Regions from separate parts of the Homo sapiens genome. Here all the other regions are linked to region 3. The links are contacts of gene promoters, found by promoter capture Hi-C in human tissues and cell types (Jung and others, 2019). All regions are on one chromosome and are shown on one strand. Each heading gives the region's core, a stretch centred on a gene start or on the middle of the fragment in contact. The rest is flanking DNA. Distances are from core to core; before and after follow the strand shown.

Region 1 (3,997 bases), core at 884-3,383, 480 kb after region 3:
CCATTCTCCTGCCTCAGCCTCCCTAGTAGCTGGGACTACAGGCGCCCGCCACCACGCCCTGCTAATTTTTTTGTATTTTTAGTAGAGACAGGGTTTCACCGTGTTAGCCAGGATAGTCTTGATCTCCTGACCTCGTGATCCGCCCGTCTTGGCTTCCCAAAGTGCTGGGATTACAGGCGTGAGCCACCACGCCCGGCTATGGAGTACATTCTTAATGCGGTAAAAAAATTATAATGTGCTTTAAATTTTGCTCATTCATTGCTATATATAAGAATATGGGGCGGGGCGGGGTGGCTCACGCCTGTAATCCCAGCACTTCAGGAGTCCGAGGCGGGCGGATCACCTGAGGTCGGGAGTTCGAGACCAGCCTGACCAACATGGAGAAACCCCGTCTCTACTAAAAATACAAAAAAATTAGCTGGGCGTGGTGGCGCATGCCTGTAATCTCAGCTACTCGGGAGGCTGAGGTAGGAGAATCGCTTGAATGCAGGAGGCGGAGGTTGCGGTGAGCCAAGATCGCGCCATTGCACTCCAGCCTGGGCAACAAGAGCAAAACTCTGTCTCAAAAAAAAAAAAAAAAAAAAAAAAAGATTGACTTTTGAATATTAACCTGTATCCTCCAGCCTTGGTATAATTGCTTATTATTTCCAAAGCTTTTTTGATTCTTTCAGGTTTTCTACCTAGGAAATTATGTCATTAGCAAACAAAGACAGTTTTATTTCTTCTTTCCCCATCTGTATGCCTTTTATTTCCTTTTATTAACTTATTGTGTTGGCTAAAACTTCCAGTAGGATGTTGAAAAGCAGTGGTGAGAGGGGACATTCTTGCCTTGTCCCTGATCTTACCAGAAAAGCTTCAAGTTTGTCGCTATAAAGTATATAGTTAGCTGTAGTTTTTTTGTGGATGCTCTTCATCAAGTTGCTTTCTAACCCACAAAATGTCTATTTCCCATGATTCAACCTAATAACAACGTGGGAAAACATTCATTGATTTGTAGTATTTTGTGAACATTCTTGATGGCCAAGTATTGTCGATGAACAATGCAGTAACTTGCTGAGTGGGCGGGTCACGAGGTGAGGAGATCAAGACAATCCTGGCCAACATGGTGATACCCCGTCTCTACTAAAAATACAAAAGTTAGCCAGGCGTGGCAGCACATACGTGCCTGTAATCCCAGCTACTCAGGAAGCTGAGGCAGGAGAATTGCTTGAACCTGGGAGGGGGAGGTTGCAGTGAGCAGAGATTGCACCACTGCACTCCAGCCTGGCTACAGAGCTAGACTCTGTCTCAAAAAATAATAATAATAATAATAGAAATAAAAACCAAACAAGCAAAAACAAGACAAAATAAAAACCAACCCTCTTTGCCACTGCTGGAAGCGGTTGGCTGCATCACACCAACTCTTAACTCTGAACATTGGTAATTTAAGAGGAAACTATTCAGCATGTATGGGAAGTAATTAGGGTTGAAATATCATGATACTTGGTTTTTACTTTATATATTATATGTACTTTATATGTAATTATGTATTATTATGTTTTTTCATATAGATGGAAAAATGTTGCAAAATATCAACAATTGCCACCTAGGTTGTGGGTTTACGAGTGTTCATTGTGCTATTCTATCTTTCTGTGGATTCAAAGCTTTCTATGAAAAAAAGTTTAAAAAGTAAGAATTTCTCTTACTTTTCCTATTTAACCATTCGTCAGAAAGTGTTTTTTTTTTGTTTTTTGTTTTTGTTTTTTTTTTGAAACTTAGTCTCGCTCTGTCTCCCAGGCTGGAGTGCAACGGCGCGATCTGGGCTCACTGCAAGCTCCGCCTCCCGGGTTGACGCCATTCTCCTGCCTCAGCCTCCCGAGAAGCTGGGACTACAGGCGCCCGCCACCACCAGGCGCCCGGCTAATATTCTGTATTTTGTTTAGTAGAGACGGGGTTTCACCGTGTTAGCCAGGATGGTCTCAATTTCCTGACCTCGTGATCCACCTGCCTTGGCCTCCCAAAGTGCTGGAAAGAAAGATGTTTTTATATGTTCCCTAGCATTTTTTTTGAGATGGAGTTTTGCTCTTGTTGCCCAGGCTGGAGTGCAATGCTGTGATCTCAGCTCACCACAACCTCCACCTCCTGGGTTCAAGCGATTCTCCTGCCTCAGTCTCCCAGGTAGCTGGAGTTACAGGCATGCGCCACCACGCCCAGCTAATTTTGTATTTTTAGTAGAGACGGGGTTTCTCCATGTTGGTCAGGCTGGTCTCAAACTCCCGACCTCAGGTGATCTGCCCACCTCGGCCTCCCAAAGTACTGGGATTACAGGCGTGAGCCACCGTGCCTGGCCTTCTCCGGCATTTTAGTTGCACTATACCGGGAGCAGTTTCTCTGAATCATATTGCCTGACTCCTTAAACTTGTTTTTGTTTAATAACGTTGTTCATTGTATAGCTAAACCATAATGTTTTAAAGTAGTCCCCTATTGGCTGGGTGTAGTGGCTCACGCCTGTAATTCCAGTACTTTGGGAGGCCAAGATGGGAGGATCTCTTGAGACCAGGAGTTCGAGACCAGTCTGGTCAACATAGTGTGACCTCATCTCTTAAAAAAAAGAAAAAATGGCCGGGCGCGGTGGCTCATGCCTGTAATCCCAGCACTTTGGGAGGTCGAGGCGGGCGGATCACGAGGTCAGGAGATCGAGACCATCCTGGCTAACATGGTGAAATCCCGTCTCTACTAAAAATACAAAAAAAATTAGCAGGGCGTGGTGACTGGGGCCTGTAGTCCCAGCTACTTGGGCGGCTGAGGCAGGAGAATGGCGGGAACCCAGGAGGCGGAGCTTGCAGTGAGCCGAGATCACGCCACTGCACTCCAGCCTGGGTGACAGAGCGAGACTACGTCTTAAAAAAAGAAAAGAAAAAAAAAAGAAAAGAAAAGAAAAAAGAAAAAAGGCTGAGAGGCTGAGGCAGGAGAATCGCTTGAACCCGGGAGGTGGAGACTGCAGTGACTCGAGATTGCGCCACTGCACTCCAGCCTGGGCAACAAGAGCGAGACTCCATCTCAAAAAAAAAAAAAAAAAAGTAGTCCCCTATCGATGGACATTTACGTTAGATTGTTTCCAATCTAGAAAAAAGTACAAAAAGAAAAAAAAGCATAAAATAAACAAGAAACAAAAACAAACACAAAAATAAAATAGATGATTTCCATTCATCTGTTATTATAAATAATGGTGCAATGAATAACATTTGGGAGTTTATCTGTAGGTGAAATTCCTAGAAGTGGAAATGCTTTCGAGGATATATACAGCTAAATTTTTTTTACACCTGTAATTTTAATAGATGCTGCTAAATTGCTCTCCACAGAGATTGCACCAGTTCACAGTTCCACCAGCTATATATGTTGGTGCCTGTTATCCAGCCAGCAGGATGTTGTTAAATGTTTTGTTCTTTTTTTTTTTTTTTTTGAGACAGAGTTTTGCTCTTGTTGCCCAGGCTGGAGTGCAATGGCGCGATCTTGGCTCACTACAACCTCTGCCTCCCGGGTTCAAGCAACTCTGCCTCCCGGGTTCAAGCAACTCTGCCTCAGCCTCCTGAATAGCTGGAATTACAGGCATGCGCCACCACGCCTGGCTAATTTTTTTTTTTTTGTATTTTTCGTAGAGACGGGGTTTCTCAATGTTGGTCAGGCTGGTCTTGAACTCCCAACCTCAGGTAATCCGCCCACCTCAGCCTCTCAAAGTGCTGAGATTATAGGTGTCAGCCACTGCACCTAGCACTTTTTTTTTTTTTTTTTTTTTTTTTTGAGACAGAGTTTCATTCTTGTTGCCCAGGCTGGAATGCAATGGGCGATCTTGGCTCACTGAAACTTCTGCCTCCTGGGTTCAAGCGATTCTCCTGCCTCAGCCTCTCGAGTAGCTGGGATTACAGCAGCGCGCCACCACGCCTGGCTAATTTTTTGTAGTTTTGGTAGAGATGGGGTTTCACCAAGTTGGTGAGGCTGGTCTCGAACTCCTGACCTC
Region 2 (4,183 bases), core at 1,106-3,605, 430 kb after region 3:
CACAGTGAGCTTTCAGTTACCACCCAGATCACGCCATGCAAATGGAGAGATGTGACCTATTTCCCTTTGGCTGGAGCTGGGGGCGCTTGGTGCTTGGTCTATAACAGACACTTCTGTTGTTGTTGTTGTTGTTTGATTTTTTTTTTTGGAGTCTTGCTCTGTCGCCCAGGCTGGAATGCAGTGGTGTGATCTCAGCTCACTGCAACCTCCACCTCCCAGGTTCAAGCAATTCTCCAGTCTCAGCCTCCCAAGTAGCTGGAACTACAGGCGTGAGCCACCTTGCCCAGCTAACTTCTATATTTTTAGTAGAGATGGGGTTTCACCATGTTGGCTAGGCTGGTCTTGAACTCCTGACCTCAGGTGATCTGCCTACCTCGGCCTCCCAGAGTGCTAGGATTACAGGCCTGAGCCACCTTGCCCGGCCTATAACAGATGTTTGATAGATGTGCTGAGTGGACATATAAATCAGCCCCTCTGCTTTGAAGGACTACAGAACCTGGTGTCTGAGCCCTTTGTCCTGTAACAAGGCACTTTCCCTGAGCAAGTCTGAGTTTTCTCATCTGTAAAATGGGGCTAGTGAGACTGGTCTTACACTGGCCTATCATTGTCTGCCTTGCCTGGAGGCTCTGCCCCAGGATCATAATCTTGTTGATGCTGATTTGGCCTGGACCCCTGACCAATCAGTTTCTTTTTTGTTTTCTTTTCATTTCTTTTTTTTTTTTGAGATGGAGTCTTGCTCTGTTGCCCAGGGTGGAGTGCAGTGGTGTGATCTCGGGTCACTGCAACCTCTGCCTCCCGGGTTCAAGTGATTCTCTTGCCTCAGCCTCCCCAGTAGCTGGGACTACAGGTGTGTGCCACGACGCCTGGCTAATTTTTGTATTTTTAGTAGAGACGGGGTTTCACCATGCTGGCCAGGCTGGTCTTGAACTCCTGACCTCAGGTGATCCACCGGCCTCGGCCTCCCAAAGTGTTGGGATTACAGGCGTGAGCCACCAGGCCCAGCCCAGAGTTTCTTGAGAAGAAAAACCACAAGACCCAGGCAGCAGCTCCCTGTGGTGCCCCATCACTGGGGAGGGCAGGGAGGGGGTCAGGTCATGCTGAGCCTGGCAAGGGTGGGAAGGGCTTGTAGAGGCCCCAGAGCCTCATTCCCATGAGGCCAGTTGTACATCCGGCCCCTGGGATCCTCCGAGCACCCTCTACAAACATTCCAGGTCCTTCCTCTGGGACTGAGCTTGACACATCCCGTGTTTGATTCCCAGAACCGAGTCCTCCCTTATACTCCCCAGGTTTCTGCCTCACTGTCCCTCACTCCTGGTTATCAAACTCCAATCAGTGAACAACATTTATTGAACACCTATGGCATTTGTGCTCAGCATTGGACTGTGTGAGGCACTAGGGGTGAGTGGTGAAACAGGGAGGGGAATAGAAGAGCCAACGGGACACTTCCTATCAGCGAGAACCTTGGGAGGGCGTGGAAGTGGGGAGGGAAGAGCTGCTGGTGGCCTAGTGACAAAAAAAATGGGAGCCGTGCAACTGGGCTGTATCTGGACTGCTCATCTGAAAGTCAATGTCTGGCTGGGTGTGGTAGCTCACGCCTGTAATCCCAGTACTTTGGGAGGCCAAGGCGGGCGGATCACCTGAGGTCGGGAGTTTGAGACCAGCCTGGCCAACATGGGGAAACCCCGTCTCTACTAGTAACACAAAAATTAGCCAGGTGTGGTGGTGCACACCTGTAGTCCCAGCTACTCGGGAGGCTGAGGCAGGAGAATCACTTGAACTGGGAGGCGAAGGTTGCTGTGAGCCGAGATGGCACCACTGCACTTTAGCCAGAGCGACAGAGCAAAACTCCATCTCAAACAAACAAACAAACAAAAAAACCCAAAAAGCCAATGTCCACGATTTCTACCTCCCAGTTGTCATGTCTGACATTTGGGCTGACGTCCCCTCTGTGCTCAGTGCCCGAGGAGAGAGCCTCTGGGGTCATCCTCCATAAGGGGACAATTCCTTCCTTCCTGGGGATGGCCCCCAAGAGGCTGGCCTTACCCAGACCCCAGAATCTAAGGGACCTGGGGGCCAGTGGCCTTGGCCCCTGCGCTGTCCCCAGGTTGCCTGATGCTGCTGGACTGCAAGGCCCGGGACCCCCTCTGCTGCTGCAGCCTTGGAGGCGCCCTCACCCCTGGGTGGTCACCCTCTCGGCAGATTCCCGGGCCGTGCACACCCCCTCGTGGTTGGTGGTCGGCACTTTTCCTTGTTTGGATTTGCTGCCTGCTCTGGGCTTCCTTGGGGGCTGCCCCGGCCTTTGTGGGTGGCTTAGAATGGAGGGTGGAGTTGGAACCTGATGCCCTGGTTTGGGCGGGGGAACCCTTAAGGACTTGCTATATGACATCCTGGGAGTCACTTTCCTGACCCTCAGTGGGCCCAACAAGTCATGGCCAAGTAAAGCTTTTGTGAGGGCCAAGAGTTTAGTGCAGAGAGCATGGTTTCTGAGCCCCCTCTCCATTCTGGAAGCTTATCTGCCAGCTGGTGGATCTCCCCAGAGATGCTGGAGGGCCTGGGAGGACTCCAAATCTTGGGGAGAGACTGTAACTTGGGTACTTTCTCCCCAGGGCCTGATTTCCAGGGGAATAACCTCCCTGAACTGGGCATCAGCAGGTGGGAGCCCTGTCTGGCAGAGAGCGGACTCCGGGAGAGAGTTAGCAGCCCAGCTCTCTCCCTCCCTTTCTGCCATGAGCTCTGCTTGTAGCAAAATCACCCATTTTGATCACTGGGACACTTCTGGGAGCCGAGCAGGGCAGCAATAGTGTCCCCACTTTACAGATGAGAGTACTGAGGCTTGCAGGTGCAGGTCCTTCTGGTGTCCAGGACAGGGGTGGGCCCCAAGCCTTTGCTGCTGTTCTGTGGCCTCTCTAAATCCTCCTGACACCTAAGAGCCATTGGAACCTTTTAGGGTCTGGAAGTCCCAGCCTGGTGGGAGATACTTGGGTGGAGCCCTGCCTCAGCCATGCCCATGAGGGGAAGGGTAAAAGGAGCTGAGACCGTCACCCTCCCCACGTCAGAGGTTGGGCATCTGTCGGATTCGCCCCCACTTGGCACACCCTCATTGCAGGCTGGCTCACCCTCAGCTGGGGGAGAAGAACAAGAGGCAAGGGGCCTTGGGCACACAGTCTGGGGGCCCCCGAAGCCCCCTCATCTTTATTCCAGTTCCTCAGATGTGGCAGTTCCCCCAGCTTCCCTGGAAACAAGTATCAGACAAAGGTGGTGGCAGACACAGGACAGGGCCCTGGGTGGGGCTTGCTGGCGCTAAAAGGATTTCTCAGCAGGCTCAGGGTCTCCCGCCCCGAATGACCCTTCTGGCCACTTCAAGCTACTCCTCTGCTGCCCGGCTTCCCTCTGCCTCTGGTTCCCCTGGCTGAGCAGGGCCTTCCTGGGCTTGACCCTGGCCCCCTTCAGCAGTTGTCTCAGACTGTTCCCGAATGTCCCTGGGGCTGGCTTTGACCCCAGCATCCCCATCTCCCTGGCACCCTTGCTCCTCCCCTCTGCTTCTTGCCTCTGACTGCCCACTGCCCTCCTCCTCTGTCACAGCCCCCTGGGTCTCAGGCCACTCCGCCCGGCGGTAGACGAGGTAGCCAGTGGTGGGCAGCCTGTGGGCCAGGGCCCCAGGGGGCAGGCGGTGGTAGCCCTGCTCCTTGTACAGGAAGAGGCCAAAAGTGTTGGGCTGGGTCACTCGGAACTTGGTGGCACAGAGCTGGTTCAGGGTGGCAATCGAGGCTTCTGGGGGCACGGCCAGGGTCTTGGAGGTGCAGCCACTGCTGGGATCCTGATAGGCTACTCGGAGGAGGTGCTATGCAGGAGGAGAAGCAAAAACAAGTACTCAGCCCCGGCTGGCATGCATCTGGCTCCAAAGCTGAGACATCAGCTTTCTGGGCTGTGCAGGGACAGGGTGGGTAGGTGGAGATCCAGTGGGAGAACCAAGCGGCAAAAGCTCTATGTGCTCCAGGGGTCGGCTTGTGGGCCACAGCCGCAGGTGCAAGGACAGCCCAGTGGGGCGCTCACAAGCCTGAGATGAAGATTTGATAGTGAGTAATTTGTGCCCCAAGCACTCTCCTGCATTAACTCATTTAATCTTCACCTCAACCCCAGGAGGTAGGTCCTATTACCCCATTTTACTGATGAGAAAACTGAG
Region 3 (4,331 bases), core at 1,158-3,657:
CTCCCAAGTAGCTGGGACTACCGACGTGCACCACCACATTTGGCTAATTTTTTTTTTCTTTTCTGTTTTTTTTTTTTTGAGACACAGTCTTGCTTTGTCACCCAGGTTGGAGTGCAGTAGCCCGATCTCGCCTCACTGCAACCTCCACCTCCTGGATTCAAGCAATTCTCCTGCCTCAGCCTCCCGAGTAGCTGGGACTACAGGCGCCCACAACTGTGCCCGGCTAATTTTTGTATTTTTAGTAGAGACAGGGTTTCACTATGTTGGCCAGGCTGGTCTTGAACTCCTGACCTCTGGTGATCCACCCGCCTTGGCCTCCCACAGTGCTGGGATTATAGGCATGAGGCACCGCGCACGGCCTGGCTAATTTTTTTTAAATTTTTTTGTAGAGACAGGGTCTCACTAGGTTGCCCAGGGTGGTCTCAAATTCCTGAGCTGAAGCAGTCCACCCACCTCAGCCTCCCAAAGTGTTGAGATGACAGGCTTTAGCCACCTGGCATGGCAGGCTGTCCCAATTCTAATCTCAGCTCTCAGCTACTTACTGGCTGTGTGACCATGGGCAAGTTATTTAACCTCCATGTGCCTCAGTTTCCTCATTTTTAATATTGTTACAGGTGAGGATTACAGGATTTCACTGATGTTAAGAAGTACCCTTTAATAGCTCTGAAATCATAGTTTAATTGGCAATTTAAAAAATTTTAGTGGACTAGGCATGGTGGCTCATACCCAGCACTTTGGGAGGCTGAGGTAGAAGGATCACTTGAGCTCAGGAGTTTGAGGTCACACCGGGCAACACAGTGAGACTTCATTTCTACAAAAAAATTAAAAAATTAGTTGGGTGTGGTGGTGCGTGCCTGTGGCCAGGTCGCTTCCCAGCTAGGATCTCAGTAGGATTGCTTGAGCCCAGGAGGCTGAGGCTGCAGTGAGCTGTGATTGCACCACTGCTCTATAGTCTGGGCAACAGAGGGAGACCCTGTCTCAGAAAAAAAAAAAAAAAGAAAAGAAAGAGAAGGAAAGAAAATTAGTGGCATAAAGTTATAGTGGGTTTTTTTTTCAATCGATGAGGTCTTCGATTCCGTGAAATATGGTAAATGATGTAGCAAGCGCCCAGCACAACGTCCCTGTTCCCATTCTATCAGCCAGCTATCTGAGGAGTGGGTTGGGATGGGGCTCAGTGTTCTGGGAGAAGTGGGTTCTAGCTCTGCCGCTGGGCCCTGGGTGTGGGCGCCCAATCGTCCGGGAAGCGCCCACAAGCCCAGGCAAGTCCCGACAGCGGTAGCCCGAGCCCAAGCGCTGCGGGCCCGGCGTCCCAGTGACCCCAGTTCCGGGTCCGAGGCACCGCCGGCGGCATCTCCCACTCCCGGGCCCGGGCCGCTCCAGGCCAGGAAGGGAGGGACGCCCCGGGTGACTCAGCCGCCGTGACTCGGCCGCCGTGACTCGGCGGAACGGACGCCCCTCCTTCCCTCCCCTGTCGACACGTGCTCGCAGCCCCTCGACAGGAAATGGGCACCTGCAGCCTCCCGGGTGCCCCCCGGCGGGCAGCGGGCGCCGTTAGGGGCTGAGAGTGGGGTCGCGAGAGTCGCCCGCAGCCTGACCCCGCGCACGTCCCGGAACCTCGAGGTCTCTATTCGCCGCATTCGGCAAAGGGATCGAGGGCCGGTCTCCGGGGACCTGGCAGGTTCCACTGCCCGGACCCCCCTGGACTCCCCAGGCCGAGAAACGATAGGGACTTGGCGACGGAGGGGCGAAGGACAGACAGACGGACGGACACGCGGAGGGTCGCAGACCGGGCCGGGACTCCCACCCTGGCCCAGCTGCTCTCCCGACGGATCCCGCCTCCCTCCCGTGTGGGGACCCTCACCCCAGCCCAGACTCCAGATCCCAGGAATTCAGCCCGAAGCGGAGAGACCCTCCTAGCCTTCGAGGCGACCACCCTAGGCGCCCACGCCCCTTCTGAAGCAGGGTGGACGCAGAAGTCAGAGGTGGGCAGGAGGAGAGAAAGCGGGCACGGAGACGGAGGGACGGACGCGGACGGCGAGGGAGAAGGGGGCGGCTGGGAGAAGGGGAGTTCGCGGGTCTCTGCTGCCCGCTGCGCGGTGGGGGCAACTGGCCCCGGACGGCGAGGGGCAGGATCCTCGCCCCAGCCCCCAGCCCGGCCCCGACTCCGGTTCCCCGCTCCAGTCCCGGAGCGTGCGGGAGTTGACCCCGGCCTCCCACGCGCGGTCCTCCCGTGGGACCACCGGCGTCGGGCCCCACTCACCTGCTGGGCTGCCTGCGCTGCGGCCGGGGGCTGCGCGGGGCCGCCGTACCCGCCGCCGTTCCCGGAGCTCGGGCCGGGTTCCCCGAAGTCTCGGAACATGCCCGGGGCTGGCGGCTCTGCGGGGTACACGGCTGCTGGGTTCTGACTCACCCGCGCCGTGCGGAGTCTTTTCTTTTTATGAATGAAAAGTTCTCGGGCTGAACCACTGCGACCGCGGGGGGTGGGGGCGTTGCAGCGGCGCGGTCACCTCCAGGCTCCACCCCCGAGACGCGCCGCCTTGGCCCGTCGGTCCCGAACTTGGCGACGCCTCCCCAAGTCCGGCTGCAGCCTTTTCACCGGGATGGGCCCGGCTCGGCGTTCCCCGGAGGCTGCGGGCCCGCCCCCCTGACGTAGCTGCCCATACATGGTGTAACTTCCTCGCCGCGCCCAGGTGGAGCCCCGGGTTCCCCTGCGGACTGACGCACCTGCCAGAGCCCGCGCCCCGCCCCAGCCCTCTCGAGGCCTGGGCTAACCTCCGTTTCTGCTCCCACAAAATAGCACGAAAGAATCACATCTCTAGGAGCCACGCCAACCGCCACCCAAAGCTTCGTGGAGTGAGGTCTTTCCACTGGCCTTGTTTTAAGGCTTCGAGTATATGAAAAGTGAATAAATGACAAACCAGGGTTACAAAAATGGTGGCATATTTTATTTTACTTTATATTTTTGAGACCGGGTCTCTGTCACCCAGGCTGGAGTGCAGTGGCTCGATCTCGGCGCACTGCAGGCTCAACTTCCTGAGCTAAAGGGATTCTCCTGCCTCAGCGCCCCCTCCAAGTAAGTGGGACTACAGGCGCGCGTCACCACACCCAGGTAATTTTTGTGTTTTTTGTAGGGATTGGGTCTCGCCGTATTGCCCAGGCTGGGTGGTATATTTTAAATGTTTGCGATAAGGTAATGCTTTGAACTAACCCCACATAAAATGCAATATAATAGTATTACTCAGGATAATTTCAGGAGCTATAACGAGTTTTAATTCAGGGCCACTACAGGTGTCCTGAGGTCTGATAAACGCCATCTTCATTACGGTCAGTGCCTTTCGGAGGCTTGTGGCCACCAGACTTGTTTGGAGAGTATGTCAAAGGTGAGTGAATGTGAGGCAGGTATCATCCTCATCTCTGTTTTACAGATGGGGAAACTGAGGCTGGGAGATGCTGAAATGAATTGCTTGAAGTCGCTAAGTGAGTAGCTGGCACAGGTTGCCAAGTCACAGCCGTGGGCACTCCAAGCCCAGGCTCAGCCAAGATTTTCAAAGCCCTTACACCTTCACAGACACCTTGTCGCACATCCAGAATGTTAGTGCTGGGCACCATCCCAAAGCTTCTCTCTGATTACTTCCATCATAGATGAGGAAACTGAGGCCCAGATGGAGTACTGAGCTGTCAGTTGTCACACGACTACAGAAAGAGGGCTGGGGCCAGGTGTGGTGGCTCATGCTTGTAATCCTAGCACTTTGGAAGGCCAAGGCAGAAAGAACCATTTGAGACCCCATCTCTACAAAAAATTATAAAATTTTCTGGACATGGTGGTACGCCTGCCTTGTGGTCCCAGCTGTTCTGGAGGCTGAGGCGGGAGGATGGCTTAAGCCAGGGAGGTTGAGGCTGCGGTGAGCTGTGACTGCGCCACTGCAGTCCAGCCTGGGGGACAGAGCAAGACTCAAAGTAAATAGATCAAGAGAGGGCTGGGCTCTCCTGCTTCTCCATCGGTCCTTCCATTTCATCAGCTCTAGCTTTGCCCTCTGGGCTACTTTCCTTGGGAACACAGGCCAGAAGCCTGTGGGTGCACTCAGGACTTAGAGCCAGGAAGTCCAGATTGCCCCTGGGGTTCTAGTCCCAGAGCTACCATTTTCTGTCTGTGTGACACTGGGCAGGTCACCTTCCTTCAACTGGGCCTCCCTGCTGATCTCACAGAGCTGTTGTGGGATCAAGTGAGATCACAGATGTGAAAATGCTTTGTAAGCTATAAAGTGTTATGCACTCAGAAAGTGGTTACCAGCCTGGTGCCTCTCCTTTGCCTTTGAGCGACCCAATGCTTG

Evidence for each region. The method cuts DNA at HindIII sites, captures the fragments that hold promoters and counts their contacts. A contact is called where the count stands out against the background at its distance.
Region 1: a fragment that was not itself captured here is called in contact with the fragment with the promoter of FOSL1 in region 3 in 1 of the 25 tissues and cell types used here (dorsolateral prefrontal cortex).
Region 2: a fragment that was not itself captured here is called in contact with the fragment with the promoter of FOSL1 in region 3 in 1 of the 25 tissues and cell types used here (lymphoblastoid cells).

The regions. Positions count from the first base shown.
Region 1 is chr11:66,379,345-66,383,341 of GRCh38, forward strand. No RefSeq gene overlaps it. Among named protein-coding and RNA genes, the nearest start is that of SLC29A2, 9.6 kb to the left of the region's middle. RefSeq lists enhancers at 3,209-3,709, 3,710-3,997. The HindIII fragment of the contact is 5,232 bases long and covers 1-3,997 here.
Region 2 is chr11:66,328,912-66,333,094 of GRCh38, forward strand. RIN1 (Ras and Rab interactor 1) reads right to left here. Exons shown (of 10, transcript NM_004292.3): 10 at 1,330-3,841. The coding sequence ends at 3,365. Among named protein-coding and RNA genes, the nearest start is that of RIN1, 5.4 kb to the right of the region's middle. The HindIII fragment of the contact is 6,220 bases long and covers 1-4,183 here.
Region 3 is chr11:65,897,981-65,902,311 of GRCh38, forward strand. It overlaps FOSL1 (FOS like 1, AP-1 transcription factor subunit), which reads right to left and starts at 2,408. Exons shown (of 4, transcript NM_005438.5): 1 at 2,261-2,408. The coding sequence starts at 2,359. RefSeq lists silencers at 1,279-1,506, 1,472-1,591, 2,200-2,799. The HindIII fragment of the contact is 4,995 bases long and covers 1-3,230 here.